Linked DNA regions of Homo sapiens: regions 2, 3, 4 and 5 are each linked to region 1. The links are contacts of gene promoters, found by promoter capture Hi-C in blood cells and fetal thymus (Javierre and others, 2016). All regions are on one chromosome and are shown on one strand. Each heading gives the region's core, a stretch centred on a gene start or on the middle of the fragment in contact. The rest is flanking DNA. Distances are from core to core; before and after follow the strand shown. Region 1 holds the start of CT75 (cancer/testis associated transcript 75). Region 2 overlaps FARSB (phenylalanyl-tRNA synthetase subunit beta). Region 3 overlaps SGPP2 (sphingosine-1-phosphate phosphatase 2). Region 4 overlaps SGPP2 (sphingosine-1-phosphate phosphatase 2). Region 5 overlaps SGPP2 (sphingosine-1-phosphate phosphatase 2).

Region 1 (2,798 bases), core at 185-2,684:
GGACTACGAGTGCAAAATCTGCTACAACTACTTCGACGCGGACCGGCGCGCGCCCAAGCTGCTGGCGTGCTTGCACACCTTCTGCCAGGAGTGCCTGAGCCAGCTGCAGCTCCGCGCCGCCGCCGCCGCCGCCGCTGCCGCCGCGCCTGAGCGCCCGCCGCGCCCGCCGCCCTGGCTCTGCCCGCCCGGCGCCATCGCGTGCCCGGTGTGCCGCCACCGCACGCCGCTGCCCGACAGCCGCGTGCACGGCCTGCCCAACAACACCAAGCTAGCCGAGGCCTTCCCGCTGGCTTTGCGCGCAGCGCACGACCCGCTGCCCCAGGACCGCCTCCCGCCGCTGCCCGCGCGCCTGCCCGCGCCCGCTGCTGCCCCGCCGCCCACCCCGGCCCCGCCACCGCCGCCCTCCCCCGCCCCACCGCAGCCGCCGCCGCCGCCGCCTGCCGAGGACGCGGCCCCCGGGCCTCGAGCCCGCCCCGGCCTGCGCGCCCCGGGCGCCTACGACAGCTGCCAGAACTGCAAGCGCGCGGCGCTCACCGCTGGCTGCGTGTGCGTGGTCTTCTCCTTCCTCTCCATGGTGGTGCTGCTCTTCACCGGCCTCATCTTCGTCAACCACTACGGCGGCGGGGGAACCCCCGGAGGCGGGGCGCCCCCTGGCGAGGCACCGGCCACCGGGTCGCCCTCGCCCTCGCCCGTGGGGCCCATCTGCCTGTCGGTGGCCAGCATCCTGGCACTCTTCTCGGTCGTTGTCACCTGGGTCATCTGCTGGCTCAAGTATCGGCCCGAGGGTGCGGCCGCGGGCTCGACGGGGGGCAGCGGCGGCGGCGGCGGCCCGAGGGCACGGGCTGCGGCGGGCGGCGCGCGGAGGAGCGACACATAGCCGGGCCACGCCGCGGAACCGGCGCCTGCACCTCCAGCCCCGCGTGGCGGGAGAAGAGGGGGCCTCTGGCTCGGTGCGCTCGAGCTTCTGCACCCTCTCCCTGCTGCCCCCGGGCTCTCCTGGACTCACACTCTCTCCCAACTCGGCCACTGAGGAGCCTCGGTTTTCTGTCCCTCGGGCTTCTGTCGCCCCTCGCCCTTCGCGCTGGGCCAGAGAGGGAAACTGAACAGGAAGGGATGTTGGTGGGGGGGGGGGGTCTCTTTTGCCTGGACTGTGCAAAATTGACCTCCGCGTTATGCACCACCCTCGTCCTCGTCAGAATGTGCGGCCATCCCTCCCTAGAGCACAAAGATCTGCAGAGACGAAGCAAGGGGAGGGGGAGCCCCACCGCCCCGCCTGAAAGCTGGTTTTCTGGCCGCCAGGACTTGAGAGTTTCTTTAAAGGTGCAGCTGCGCGCGTGCACACGTGCATCTGTGGCGGCTGTGAATGGACTTGAATTGCCCGGAGGAAGAATGAATGGGATGTAAACGTGAGAGGAAAAGGATTTCCTGCTTCCTAGCGGTCCTGGAAAGGGAGAGATCCTGAGCGCTGAGAGTGACGGACACTCCCCGCCGGCACAGCGCGGGCGTGCCCGGAGCTCAGGCAGCAGCTGGGCGCGATGGGGCAGGTGCACGGCGCGCGTGCGCGATCGGAGCCGACTCGGAGTGGCCGAGGCTGCGGCGCGCCCAGGGCGGTGGGCCCTGTTGCCCATGGCCGGGTGTTGTCTGGAGCAGAGCCTAGAAGTCTCATCTCCTGGAAGCTTGTGGTTGTTTTATTCACGGTGTTACTGCCAGGAAGTCTTCTGTAACTAGACTCAGGGAGCTTAAAGAGCCTGTTCTCCCTTCTCTCAAAAGTGGCTTACGGTTGCCCCCACCTGGAAGATATTGAAAGCTATTCACACAGAATATAAACTAGATTTTCTCCTTCCCCTCGCCTTTTTTTCTTAATTTCATTTAACATATAATTTATTTTTGAATATATAAATCTGGAAATTTTTGTGCATTAAGATTTCCAGAAAATTGTTTGATAAGCAGTGACATTATTCCCATACCTCGAGTCCAAATACATTTCGAAATTAGGAGCAGAAAATAAAAGCCTGTTGGTAATTGATTCAATATTTTATACTGTGAAATAACTAATGACTTTTAATTATCTGATAAAATATAAACTAGTGCCCAAACATGAAATCAACTAACTGAAGGTCTTTCTGCCTTTGGCTACAAAAGATATATATCGTATACACTTATTAGAAAGTATTATATGATTTTGAATTTAGCTGTTTGATATTGTTGGAATTACTGAAATGTTCACATACAGTCACATGAGATGAAAAAGAATATATATCTATCTGATTTTGTAACTACAAAGATGAATTGCCAGTATATGTTGCAAGTGGGTTAGATGCCTTTTTTTTTAAGAAGGAAAACTGTTCCAAATGTATTTTATATGAAAACATTCTTTATTCCATCTTTTGAAATTTGGAATAAGACAAAGTTTTCATGCTTAAAAATCACAGAATCTACTGAAGGTATGCTATTATTCCTCGAGTATTTATGCAAGCTGTCTGCATGATATCCTGACACTATTCTATTAATTGAACTTGAATCGAGCATTTGTATCTATCATAGGAGTGAAGTAATTTATTGGCCATTGATAAGTGGTTTGGCTGCAATGTAGAAACTACAGTATGAAGTGTTTTATGTCTGCATTGTCTTAATAATAAAAACAAGAGGTATTTATAGAAATATCTATTTTCATGACATTAATTTCATGGTAAAATTGCTCCATTATTTGTGTGGCACTTCTCTTCCTTAAATACATGTCCCCTTCTAAATCCAAATTTCACATTTTTAAATGGGGCTGAGAGAGAAATAACTCACAC
Region 2 (2,798 bases), core at 120-2,619, 250 kb before region 1:
AAACATACACCTACCATCTAGCCATTCTATTCCTAGGTTTACCCATATGGCCAAAGATTTTTATGCAAGTGTTCACAGTGTTACTTATAGTAGTTACAAATTGCAGTATATCCATACTATGAAATACTTCTCAGCAATAAGAAGGAATGAACTACTGATCCTCAAAACAACATGAATGAATTTCAAAACAGTATGCTAAGTGAAAGCAAGAGACACAAAAGACTCTATTTAATTCTATTTACCTGAGAGTCTAAAAAAGTCAAAAGCAGGTGGTCGGCAGGACCTCAGGAAAGAGAACTGACTGCAGTGGGTTAAGAGAAAACTTTTTGGGGTGATGGAAATTTTATCTTAATTGAGGTGGTAGGTGTACTTCAGGTGTAGGTTATACCTTTGTAAAGCTGGGAGAAAAAGAATGTAATGTAACATGTAGTATTTTACTGATTTTAACTACATAACACCAGTTGATAAATGCCTAGAGAAATAGCCTGAACTGTAGAATTGGCAGTTGTGCTCAAGGTGGCTCACTGGTCCACAGCTATTAATGATATATTCTCCCTTAGTTTCAGGTTCGCTCTAGTTAAAATCATGGCTTATGGATCATCATATGATAGCCCTTGTTGAAGTAGGTGGAACCATTTGTTCTGTCAGCAGCTACCCACCTGGATATTTTTGGGGGTGGCCAAAATTACTTGTAATGAAAAACCCACTAATGCCTAATTGTATATCCCAGCATGAAAGGGGAAAGATCAACTCCATGCATCATGTAGATGTTTCTGCCCTCGGAAGCAGGAAATGGTAGGCAGAAAAACAGTGTCGGCTGCATTGGAAGAAGCGAATCCAGCTCATGAGTCGAGGCTCTGCAGCCAGATCATCTTACACTTGTCCCTGGTGAAGCATTTGAACTGGAGCCAGGGCAGTCTGTGAGTACTGCCAAAAGCCTTTATTACAGAAGATGCACACCTTCTTAGTAAAAACTGGGAGCTCTAGTATTAAAGTGAAAATTAAATGGAATTGATTTTTGTTCTAGCTTAGAAAAAACTTAAATTCTACCACTACAGCCTCACAGTCCTGCAGTGCTCTTCTAGTTTTGTTTGTTTTTTGTTTTTTTAGACGGAGTCTCGCTCTGTCACCCAGGCTGGAGTGCAATGGCACAATCTTGGCTCACTGCAACCTCCACCTCCTGGGTTCAAGCAATTCTCCTGCCTCAGCTTCCCGAGTAGCTGGGACTACAGGTGTGTGCCACCATGCCTGGATAATTTTTGTATTTTTAGTAGAGACGGGGTTTCACCACGTTAGCTAGGCTGGTCTCGAACTTCTGACCTCAGGCGATCTGTCCACCTCTGCCTCCCAAAGTGCTGGGATTACAGGCGCCCAGCCTGCTCTTCTGTTTTTAAATTATTTTTGAATTGATCTTTTTTCACATTTTAATTTTTTTGGTTTAATAACGGTATGAGAGTAGGAATTCTCCCTGATGTGTAGGGTGAAAACAGTTGAGTTTCAGAGAGATCAATAACTTACTCAGAAGTCACATAGCCAATAAATGAGTTTGAGACACTATAAAAGAGTGACTTGGAGTCCACAGACCACTCACTGATTTGCATTATTTACTTATTTATGCGAAAGTAAATAATGGGACTTTCTACACTTTTTAAAAATATAAAAATAATGGGAGACAAAAAGTTAAAAATTGTTAAGTCCAATACTTTAAAAAAACTCTGCAAACTGTGGCCTTACTGAGTTAATCTACCTTTCTTCCTCCTGATTCCCTGAAGTAACTAACTGCTGTTAACAATTTAGCCTGTATTGTTCCTTAGTTTGGACATTTTCCTTGATTTGTACAGTCAGCCACACACACCTGCTCACATTTTTGGGGGTCATGCTCTACTTACTGGTTTGCAACAAGTTTTGTTTTTTATTTTACATATATCTCATGACATTTCACTTAATATGCCCCATTTTTTCAGGTCAGTGCCTATAGACCTATCTCATTCTTTTAAATGAGGTAATATTCTATTGTACAGATGTCCGTAATTGTTCAATTATTCCCTTGTTGGTGGACATTCAGTTGTTTCCAACTGTTTGCAATTATAAACACTGCTCCAATGAACCCCCTATCCTGCTAAATAGCACTGGCTTAGGACCCCAAGGAAAACCAGTCCTAATGGGTGCAAGACTGTATAAATATCCACATTTGACAGACACATTCAGAGATGCATAGAGTTCATTAGATATTTCTTTGATGTGACGTTTGTACTTGAACTATATATTATTCCAGTACCTTACATCTTAGATGTAGAAGTCGCTAGGTCAAAGGATGTGTTTTGAATTTAAAACATGTTGAATGACTGTTCTCACATTTTAAACAGGAGTAATCTACTACAAACCAGCCAGCCTAACCACTGCCCCTGCTCTCAGCAATGATGGGCTCATCAGCTTGGTAAGAGAGAACATTACTCACAATCTTGCTTCTCAATCTTAATCTATTTGTGCTTGGTGTTTTATATAACATCACTAACCCTAATACTTGAGTATTTACTTTGGCCCTTCTGTCCATTTTATCCAAAAGCAAACAGATAGCCTTCAAGGGACACCATTGCCTTAAGCAGAATATGCCTCCTAAGCATTGAAAGCCTTTGACCCATCTGATATCCAAGTTCTGGCTTATTATGTTATTAGGGCCTTGAATAACTTTATGTATATTATTATGGACTGAATGTATCCCCACAAATTCATGTTGACCCTCTGACCTCCAGTGTGATGGTCTTTGGAGATGAGGCCTTTGGCAGGTGATTAGAGCT
Region 3 (2,798 bases), core at 87-2,586, 230 kb before region 1:
AAAGCTCACAAAATATCTGTCTCTGAACTGGATCTGTTCTTTTTATTTTTATTTTTTTGCATATTCAAAGTTAGGAGGTTACTTCTTTGGAGCTGCATAGTGCTTGGCACAGTATGTGAGGCCAGAGGGAAAACGGTTCACGGTTCTACAGGACAGCAAGGACAAGCTATAGGGCAGATGACTGTGTAACAGAGGGGAAAAAATAGGGATAACTGTCCTGAACGGGTGGATTTGAGGGATAGGGAGAAGAGAGGAAAGAGTGCAGATGGTTGATAGGGAACATAAGAAATATATGGAAGACAGGTAAAGAGAATGGTGCAAAAGGCATGATAAGGGAAAGACATGAGAGCAAAAATGGTGAGAATAAGTATTCTTTACTTTGCAAAGAACAAATGTAAAACTCCTTCCCATAGAGAAGTATAACTAGACTACAAAGTATACAAAATATACAGCATATTCAAACACCTAGACCCAGTGATTCCACTCCTAGGAATTGATTCTAAGAAAATAACCAGAGACGATAATAAGGCTGCTCATGAAGTTTACATACAGGGATGATTCCTGTTTGGTTCTTGTTGGGTTATTTCAGCTCATGCCATTTAAGTCCAAAAAGTAACACATGCTCCATTACAGAAACATCAGAAACAAGCAAAAATGCAGAAAGTATGGAACATACATCATAATAAGAAAGACTCTAGAACAATAAATCAAGCATATTATGCTGCTTACACCAAAAATGAGATAAAAACCACGCTGCCTTATTTAATAATATAGCAGGAACATTTTCCATGTGAAAAGACAAATTTCTGCAACCTCATTTTCTATGGTTTCAAGGTAACCATAAGTGAGATGTTTTAAACAGAATACAAGCTTTACAGAAAGTATGATCCTAATTTTATATAAATATATACTTGTAAGCATGGATAAAATGTCAGAAGGAAATAAAAATGTTAAGAGTAATTTATTCTCTGTGTTGTGACATTACAGATGACTATTATCTTCTCTATACTCCAGGATCTTCCAAATTTTCTAGTCAATACCTGTTATTTTTATTATAATAAAATGAAATCAAGGAGGAAAAAAATCAGAATGTGAAAATCAAAGTGTTTCAAAACAGACTAAACTAGAAATGATTGTTTATAATTTTCACATCATGCCAAAAAAAGAAATATCCCTAAGAATCTATATGATAAGCAATATACCATTCCTCCATGATCCAAGTAACTTTTAAAATAAAGGCATACAGGCTGGGTGCGGTGGCTCATGCCTGTAATCCCAGCACTTTGGGAGGCCGAGGCGGGTGGATCACGAGGTCACGAGTTCAGGACCAGTCTGGCCAATATGGTGAAACCCTGTCTCTACCAAAAAATACAAAAAAATTAACCAGACGTGGTGGCGCGTGCCTGTAGTTCCAGCTACTCAGGAGGCTGAGGCAGGGGAATTGCTTGAACCCGGGAGGTGGAGGTTGCAATGAGCTGAGATTGTGCCACTGTATTCAGCCCGGGTGACAGAGTGAGACTGTCTCAAAAAAAAAAAAAAGAAAAGAAAAGAAAAGAAAAAGCATACAAGATGTGTTTCCAGCCTTACCCTATGGATTGCATTGTTTGAAATACAGTCAACCTTTAATTCAGTTTGCCATCCAAGGTTTATATGTATCCTTTTAAATTATTTGGAAAAAAAAAGGAATCATTACACAAAACTAACATTTTCCAACGTTCAAATGCAGAAAGTTCTAAATCGCTTTGATTTTTTAATCTATTTTCATTTTCAGTTATAAAACTTGATATTTAGGTAAAAGCTTGAGCTTTATTATATTCTCATTACAGGAAACAATAATAGAGGCAGACAAGCTCCAGTGTGTAGAAAAGAATGCTAATAGAGCTACCCTAAGCATCAGAACAAATTTTAAAAGTAAATGCTTATATAAACACATAAAATAGAGTGTTTTCATTCTTAGCCAAACAGAAACACTCCTTTTTTTAGTGAACATCACTGGGTATCTCAACAGCAGACCCTAAACCTGAAAACTCCCAGCATTTATTAATTCTGACCCTACATCACATTCCCATATGCAGTTTACTGCGACAAATTTCCATTCTATCTCCAAACATCTTCCCTGAAGAATGCTATTGAACAGGCCAACACAACACAAGGTTAGCGCTAGTGAGAAAGAAAGGGAGAGAACAAACCCATTCAGTCAATTGTTAGGAAAGAATGCATTCAGATCTTGAAACTATTTATGCTGAGAACTCTATGATTCTGGCATCTTCCCCTCTGCCAGGTCCCCTGCTGAGAATGTGAAGGGACTTCTCTGCCCTTGGCTGCCTTCACAGAGTAAGCTGAAGCCAGGAGCAGAGTAAAAGCCAAGACCCACTTCTTTGCAGATGCTGCGAATGCTTTGTAGGCAAGCAGACACTGACATTAAAACAAACTGAAACAAACCAAAACACTGCAGTTACTCTAGAAAATAACTTTTAGTCATAGATCAGTCAATGTTTCCTAGTTAACAGACTCAGAATATTTATTCTTTTCTATGCTAGCTCAAAATGAAATCAGTTGCTGAGAATAATGCAGATGAGATTCAATAGCAGCCAAATCACAAGGAGGAGGCAACATTATTCATGAATATGAATATAAATGATTACGGAGAGAAACCTACATGTAATTAGCATATGTATAGGGGAGAAGAGTGAATGCATAAGTTCAAAAATATTAATTTCCTATTGAAAGCACATCAATGTCCATAGGGATCAGTCAAAAGCAGGAGGCTGATTTACCTGTCACATGGTATGAGCAAA
Region 4 (2,798 bases), core at 88-2,587, 210 kb before region 1:
ACAAGAAAGGACAGAATATTACATAAACGTAGTGGATAAAGCAATTGCAGGGTTTGAGAGAATTAACTCTAATTTTGAAAGTTCTCCTCCAGGTAAAAGGTTATCAAATATCATCACATGATTTGGCATATGTAAAGGGGAGAAAAATAAGGAAAAAAACAGCATTGGCATTCTACAAAGAAATCTTTCCTAAAAGGAAGAGTCAATTGATGCGGCAAACTTCATTGTTGTCTATTTTAAGAAACAGGACACGCTGGCTCATGCCTGTAATCCCAGCACTTTGGGAGGCTGAGGTGGTATGATTGCTTGAGCCCAAGAATTTGAGACAAGCCTGGGCAACATAGTGAGACACTGTCTCTAATAAAAATACAAAAATTAGCCAGATGTGGTGGTGCATGCCTGTAGTCCCAGCTACTCGGGAGGCCGAGGTATGAGAATTGCTTGAATCTAGAAGGCAGACATTGCAGTGAGCCAAGATCTCACCACTGCACTCCAGCCCAGGTGACAGACTGAGATGTCTCAAAAACAAAAACAAAAACAAAACTTGCCACAGCCCCTCCACCCTTCAGCAATGACCACCCTACGCAGTCAGCAGCCATCAACACTGAGCCAGACCCTCCACCAGCAAAAACATTATGACTCACAGAAGGCCCAGATCATTGTTAGCATTTTTTAGCAGTAAATTATTTCTAAATTAAGATATTATATGTACATTGCTTTTTTTTAGACATAATGTAATTGCACACTTACTAGACAACAGAATAGTGTAAACATTTTTATATGCACTGAGAAACAAAAAAAAAATTGTGTGACTTGCTTGATTGTGATATTGACTTGATGGTGATGGTTTGGAACTGAACCCGCTGTGATTCTGAGTTAGGCCTGGATGTCACACTATGTTCATCCATTCATCTGTCAGTGAACACTTGGGCTCACCTTTAGGCTACTGTGAGTAAGGCTTCTCTGAACATGGGGTTTCAAATATCTTCAGAGAGATTTTTTTAGAAGCTTCCCATGGGGTTTGAATATGCAGCTATGGTTGAGAACCATTATAAAAGACATTCCCTAGAGATTGTGAGGGGCCCAGGGAAGGGGCACGCTATCATAGTTGGCTCAATCCAGTTATTCCATCCTAACTATATCATCATGTCAGGTAATCAGCAGTGTAGACATCTGTCTCCTTCAGTAGACTTGGACACCTGAGGGGTGGCATAGGTTTCTTTACCACAAGAGCTCCCAGATCTCATTCCAAGTCCAGGGGCCTGTAGGAGCTGATTAAGTTGCTGCTGAATAAAGGCAACTAATCCATAATTCTACCTTATCCTACTATTAAAACCAACTGTTCCCTTCTACTAAAAATTACTCATCATTGCACCCTAGGCCATTCTCTGGTCCTGTAGCCTGACTGGTACCTGGGCCTAAGCCTGAGTCAGGGTCTAAGATCTTTATGAAATAAAATTATGAGCATGAAAGAAGCCCTGGGTCCTGACAGAACAGATGGGGTTGGGGACAATGGTTGCTGTGGCCTCTTGCTCCAGCTTCTTCTGGGACAAATGCTCCCAAAAGGGGGCGGTGCCCCTTCCCTGGGCCCCTCACAATCTCTAGGGAATGTCTTTTATAATGGCTCTCAACCATAGCTGCATATTCAAACCCCATGGGAAGCTTCTAAAAAAATCTCTCTGAAGATATTTGAAACCCCATGTTCAGAGAAGCCTTATTCACAGTAGCCTAAAGGTGAGCCCAAGTGTTCACTGACAGATGAATGGATGAACATAGTGTGACATCCAGGCCTAACTCAGAGTCACAGCGGGTTCAGTTCCAAACCATCACCATCAAGTCAATATCACAATCAAGCAAGTCACACAATTTTTTTTTTGTTTCTCAGTGCATATAAAAATGTTTACACTATTCTGTTGTCTACTAAGTGTGCAACTGCATTATGTCTAAAAAAAGCATATAATATTCCTTGCATCTGGATGACAGGCCTAATCTATCTTCCCCTAAATATCTGCTTACTGTCCCCACAACTCACTTTAAAAAGAAAAAGCTGTAGCTGTGTTTCTATTGAGGTGGGTTTTGTGTACTCTTTACTCATCTCTGTAGCTCTACATGCTCGTGCTTACTTTCATTTTAACTTTAACCCGAGTTCTCGAGATCATTCTTTTTTAAATTTTACTTTAAGTTCCGAGATACATGTGCAGAACATGCAGGTTTGTTACACAGGTATACGTGTGCCATGGTGGTTTGCTGCACCTATTGACCATCCTCTAAGTTCCTCCCCTCACCCCCAACCTCCCAACAGGCCATGGTGTGTGTTGTTCCCCTCCCTGTGTCCATGTGTTTTCACTGTTCAACTCCCATTTATGAGTGAGAACATGTGGTGTTAGGTTTTCTGTTCCCGTGTTAGTTTGCTGAGGATGATGGCTTCCAGCTTCATCCATGTCAAAGGACATGATCTCATTCCTTTTCATGGCTGCATAGTATTCCATGATGTATATGTACTACATTTTCTTTATCCAGTCTATCATTACCAAGATCATATTTTATTAAAGCCTACAGAAATTAAACAGTAGCCCCAGATAAAAAGAGATGCCAGAGAACCCAAGAGTTCTTCATTCCATATTGAAGTCTATGAACATATTTGGAGAGAACCTCTTTGTAACACGAAGTGGCAGTGTAGCAAATAGAGAACGCCCTCCTCCCCTCCTTCCCTCCATCTCAGGAGCCACCAGTGTGGTGTGACGTGGGATGGGGACAGCAAGGACGTGCCTTGGGAGGTAAAATTACAGGACTGGCCC
Region 5 (2,798 bases), core at 105-2,604, 190 kb before region 1:
GACCCAATTAAGTTCCATCATCCATCATACTTCTTTGGGTTGAGGCCCTAAAGTCCTGTGCATGAAAGCAAAAACCCATAAGGAGGCAACACGGGAAGTAATTACAGACCATTAACACCTTAGTAAACTGGCTAGGGGCCCCCACATGGTATTGAAGGATGGCATGGAGGTCCCGTAGGTTTTCACGAAGGGGAATTAGCCTATTTTCTTCTTCTGCTCTGAATGCAGGATAAATGTAATATATAGATAGAAAGAAAATCTGGTTCTCTGGATAGTCGACCATTCACCCCAGGCAGACAAAAGGTTTTCCAGGGAACCAATGCGGTCAATATGAAACTTGTCCTTACAGTGTGGAAAAGCTTCCAGCATGGGCTCTGTTCTGGATGGCTGGGCTCATATGGGGACGGCAGAGAAAACGGCACTTTTTCTCTTAGTGTAGTGGCCCTTTCTGGTTATTACAGTAAAAAATGACAGTGTGTACCATGTCTAACACATTTCCAATTAGCCAGACTTTATTCTTTACACTAGCATAAATAACACCTAAATAATTTTGAAAACAAAATATTTTGAAATAACATTATTACTAGTAAACCAGCCACAGGATTTTAAAAAGCCAAGCCACACTTCCATTTTTGGCCCACATTAATATAAGACGCTTCTCCTCCTAGCTTCTTCTGAATGTCTGCCTTCAAACTTTTCTCTCTGTTAACATCTTCCATTCCCTGAAGGAAAACAGGACATGATGAACTGTTTTACACTTTTGTTTACATTTTTGTATACACTACGGAGCTGCCCCTGTTTGTCTTCATCCCCGCAAAATACCCTCATCTGAAAAGAGCAAAGGCTCCATATGATCATAATAAAACCTAAGTCCTCTGCAGGATGAACGGAGCACCAAGAGGCTCTTTTCAAATTACACCCACCATATTAAAAAAAATTGAAAGATCCCAATATCTTTTTTCCTTCCCTTGGCTACACTCATAGCCCCCTCCACCATGGAGAAATAGCAAAAGTGATGTGCTGTTAACTAACAGGAGCATATGATTATTCCTCATGTCTCATGGGGTAGAAACACTGCAAACTGCTGGGATTTACAGTCTATCTACGGGTTTGTTTCCAAAAAGTCAGGAACTGGTTATGTCATTGACTGTTGGAGGCAAGAGAACAATGAGCTGTAACCCAAAGACCACAGCCTCTCTACCAGTACGTACCTATCCTGTTTCTTAATTTATCCAAATGCATCTCATTCCCTTTTTTTCTCAGCTTACCAGTAAGATGACTTGGATAAACAGACACCAGACACTCATCCATTCCACTCCTAGGTGTATCCCTAAGAGAATGGAAAGCATGTGTCCTCACTGGAACTTGTATGTAAATGTTGTTAGCATTTGGTAGCCTCATTCTTCTCAGTTTCCAAAAAGTTTAAACAACCCAAATGTCCATCGACTGATAGGCAGATAAACAAACTGTGCTATATATTTACAATGGAATATTATTTGGCCATAGAAAGAAAGAAAGTACTGGTGAACACAGTAATGCTGAGTGAAATCAGAAGTCAAACACGAAGGACACACATTGTATGATTCCATTTACATGAAATGTTCAGAAGAGGCAAATCCATAGAGATAGAAAGTAAATTAGCCCCACTGCCTACGGTAGTGTGTGCTAATGGATATTGGGGTTCCTTTTCAGGGGGTAAAAATGTTCTGAAGTGAGATAGTGGTGATGGTTACACAACTCTGTGAATATGCTGAATTGTATACTTTAAAAGGTTGACTATTATCATATGTGGATTATATCTCAATTTTAAAAAGAAAGAGAAATGAGACATCAAGATAAGTCCTGGTGTACCTTTTCTATGTGTTCTTGAAGTCTCTTGTTCCAAAATGTTATTGCAATGCCTTCACATATTGATTTCAGAATAGAAGAAGAAGCAAACTATTAGAACTATTAATAGTCTTTTCTTCAAAAATCCTGTTCAATTCTGCCCGTCCACAGGGCACTGAAGTGAGTACATACCAGAGAGCTGCTGAAAATCCACTACTCACAACCATAAGTACACAGGATTCATTTTCAGAACAACTTTTAGCTTTGGAGGCTTTCTTTAAAAGCTACATTATATTTATTAATGCCTAAAATATTGCTCTTATCAAAATTAGTATATCATTATATGTCATAACAATTATACTGATTTTTTTTTGTTAATACATAATAGTTATACATCTTTTGGGGGGACATGTGATATTCTGACACATGCATACAATGTGTAATGATCAAACCAGGACAACTGGGACACCCATCACCCCAAACATTCACCTCTTCTTTATGTTGGGTCATCATGGAAGCTTCTCAAATCAACAGTCTTACAAAAAAGAGATTGACTGCACTAGATTGTGTTTTTGTCTATTCAATGTTCAGTCTTTTTTTTTTCTCCTTGGAATACAAAGTGCTCTGTGGTCTCCTATTTAGCGTCTGGGAGTGAATTAAAAGCAATTCTTGGTGATGGTTATTTGGAAACACTCTAAAGGCTACTGTTTACCATCCAGTGTGAAAAGCTATTTCCAACTGGTGAATAGCCACTCATACTTCTGGCATTATTTTTATTTTTTAAATTCAGAGCTTTTTTGCTTTTTTTGCTGGATGTGATGTGTGTGTGTGTAACGCTGGGAGAAGCAATTTTAATTTCAAACTAGTACAGTGCTACTCATGTCTAAACCACCAAAACAAAGCAAGCACCATAAATCATAGAAGATAATCAGCAAACTGACATTTATATATTTCAAGTTTTGTAAAAATAG

What was found. Contacts are between HindIII fragments. The CHiCAGO score rates a contact against its expected background, and 5 or more counts as called.
Region 2: a contact is called between a fragment that was not itself captured here and the fragment with the promoter of CT75 in region 1, in 10 of 17 cell types (M0 macrophages, M1 macrophages, M2 macrophages and 7 more). The highest score is 21.2, in M0 macrophages.
Region 3: a contact is called between a fragment that was not itself captured here and the fragment with the promoter of CT75 in region 1, in 8 of 17 cell types (M0 macrophages, M2 macrophages, M1 macrophages and 5 more). The highest score is 14.2, in M0 macrophages.
Region 4: a contact is called between a fragment that was not itself captured here and the fragment with the promoter of CT75 in region 1, in 2 of 17 cell types (M0 macrophages and M1 macrophages). The highest score is 6.3, in M0 macrophages.
Region 5: a fragment that was not itself captured here is called in contact with the fragment with the promoter of CT75 in region 1 in 4 of 17 cell types (M1 macrophages, activated CD4 T cells, monocytes and 1 more); the score reaches 6.2 in M1 macrophages.

Annotation. Positions count from the first base shown.
Region 1 is chr2:222,317,107-222,319,904 of GRCh38, reverse strand. CT75 (cancer/testis associated transcript 75) reads right to left here and starts at 1,434. Exons shown (of 4, transcript NR_136642.1): 1 at 535-1,434. RNF228 (ring finger protein 228) reads left to right here. Exons shown (of 1, transcript NM_001395871.1): 1 at 1-2,798. The coding sequence ends at 877. RefSeq lists a silencer at 520-849 and enhancers at 1,320-1,369, 1,146-1,741. The HindIII fragment of the contact is 3,961 bases long and covers 1-1,678 here.
Region 2 is chr2:222,567,149-222,569,946 of GRCh38, reverse strand. FARSB (phenylalanyl-tRNA synthetase subunit beta) reads left to right here. Exons shown (of 17, transcript NM_005687.5): 17 at 1-2,798. Among named protein-coding and RNA genes, the nearest start is that of FARSB, 88 kb to the left of the region's middle. The HindIII fragment of the contact is 4,865 bases long and covers 1-2,798 here.
Region 3 is chr2:222,548,625-222,551,422 of GRCh38, reverse strand. All of the region lies in intron 4 of SGPP2 (sphingosine-1-phosphate phosphatase 2), which reads right to left. Among named protein-coding and RNA genes, the nearest start is that of FARSB, 110 kb to the left of the region's middle. The HindIII fragment of the contact is 928 bases long and covers 873-1,800 here.
Region 4 is chr2:222,526,361-222,529,158 of GRCh38, reverse strand. All of the region lies in intron 4 of SGPP2 (sphingosine-1-phosphate phosphatase 2), which reads right to left. Among named protein-coding and RNA genes, the nearest start is that of SGPP2, 100 kb to the right of the region's middle. The HindIII fragment of the contact is 654 bases long and covers 1,011-1,664 here.
Region 5 is chr2:222,508,763-222,511,560 of GRCh38, reverse strand. All of the region lies in intron 2 of SGPP2 (sphingosine-1-phosphate phosphatase 2), which reads right to left. Among named protein-coding and RNA genes, the nearest start is that of SGPP2, 86 kb to the right of the region's middle. The HindIII fragment of the contact is 1,986 bases long and covers 362-2,347 here.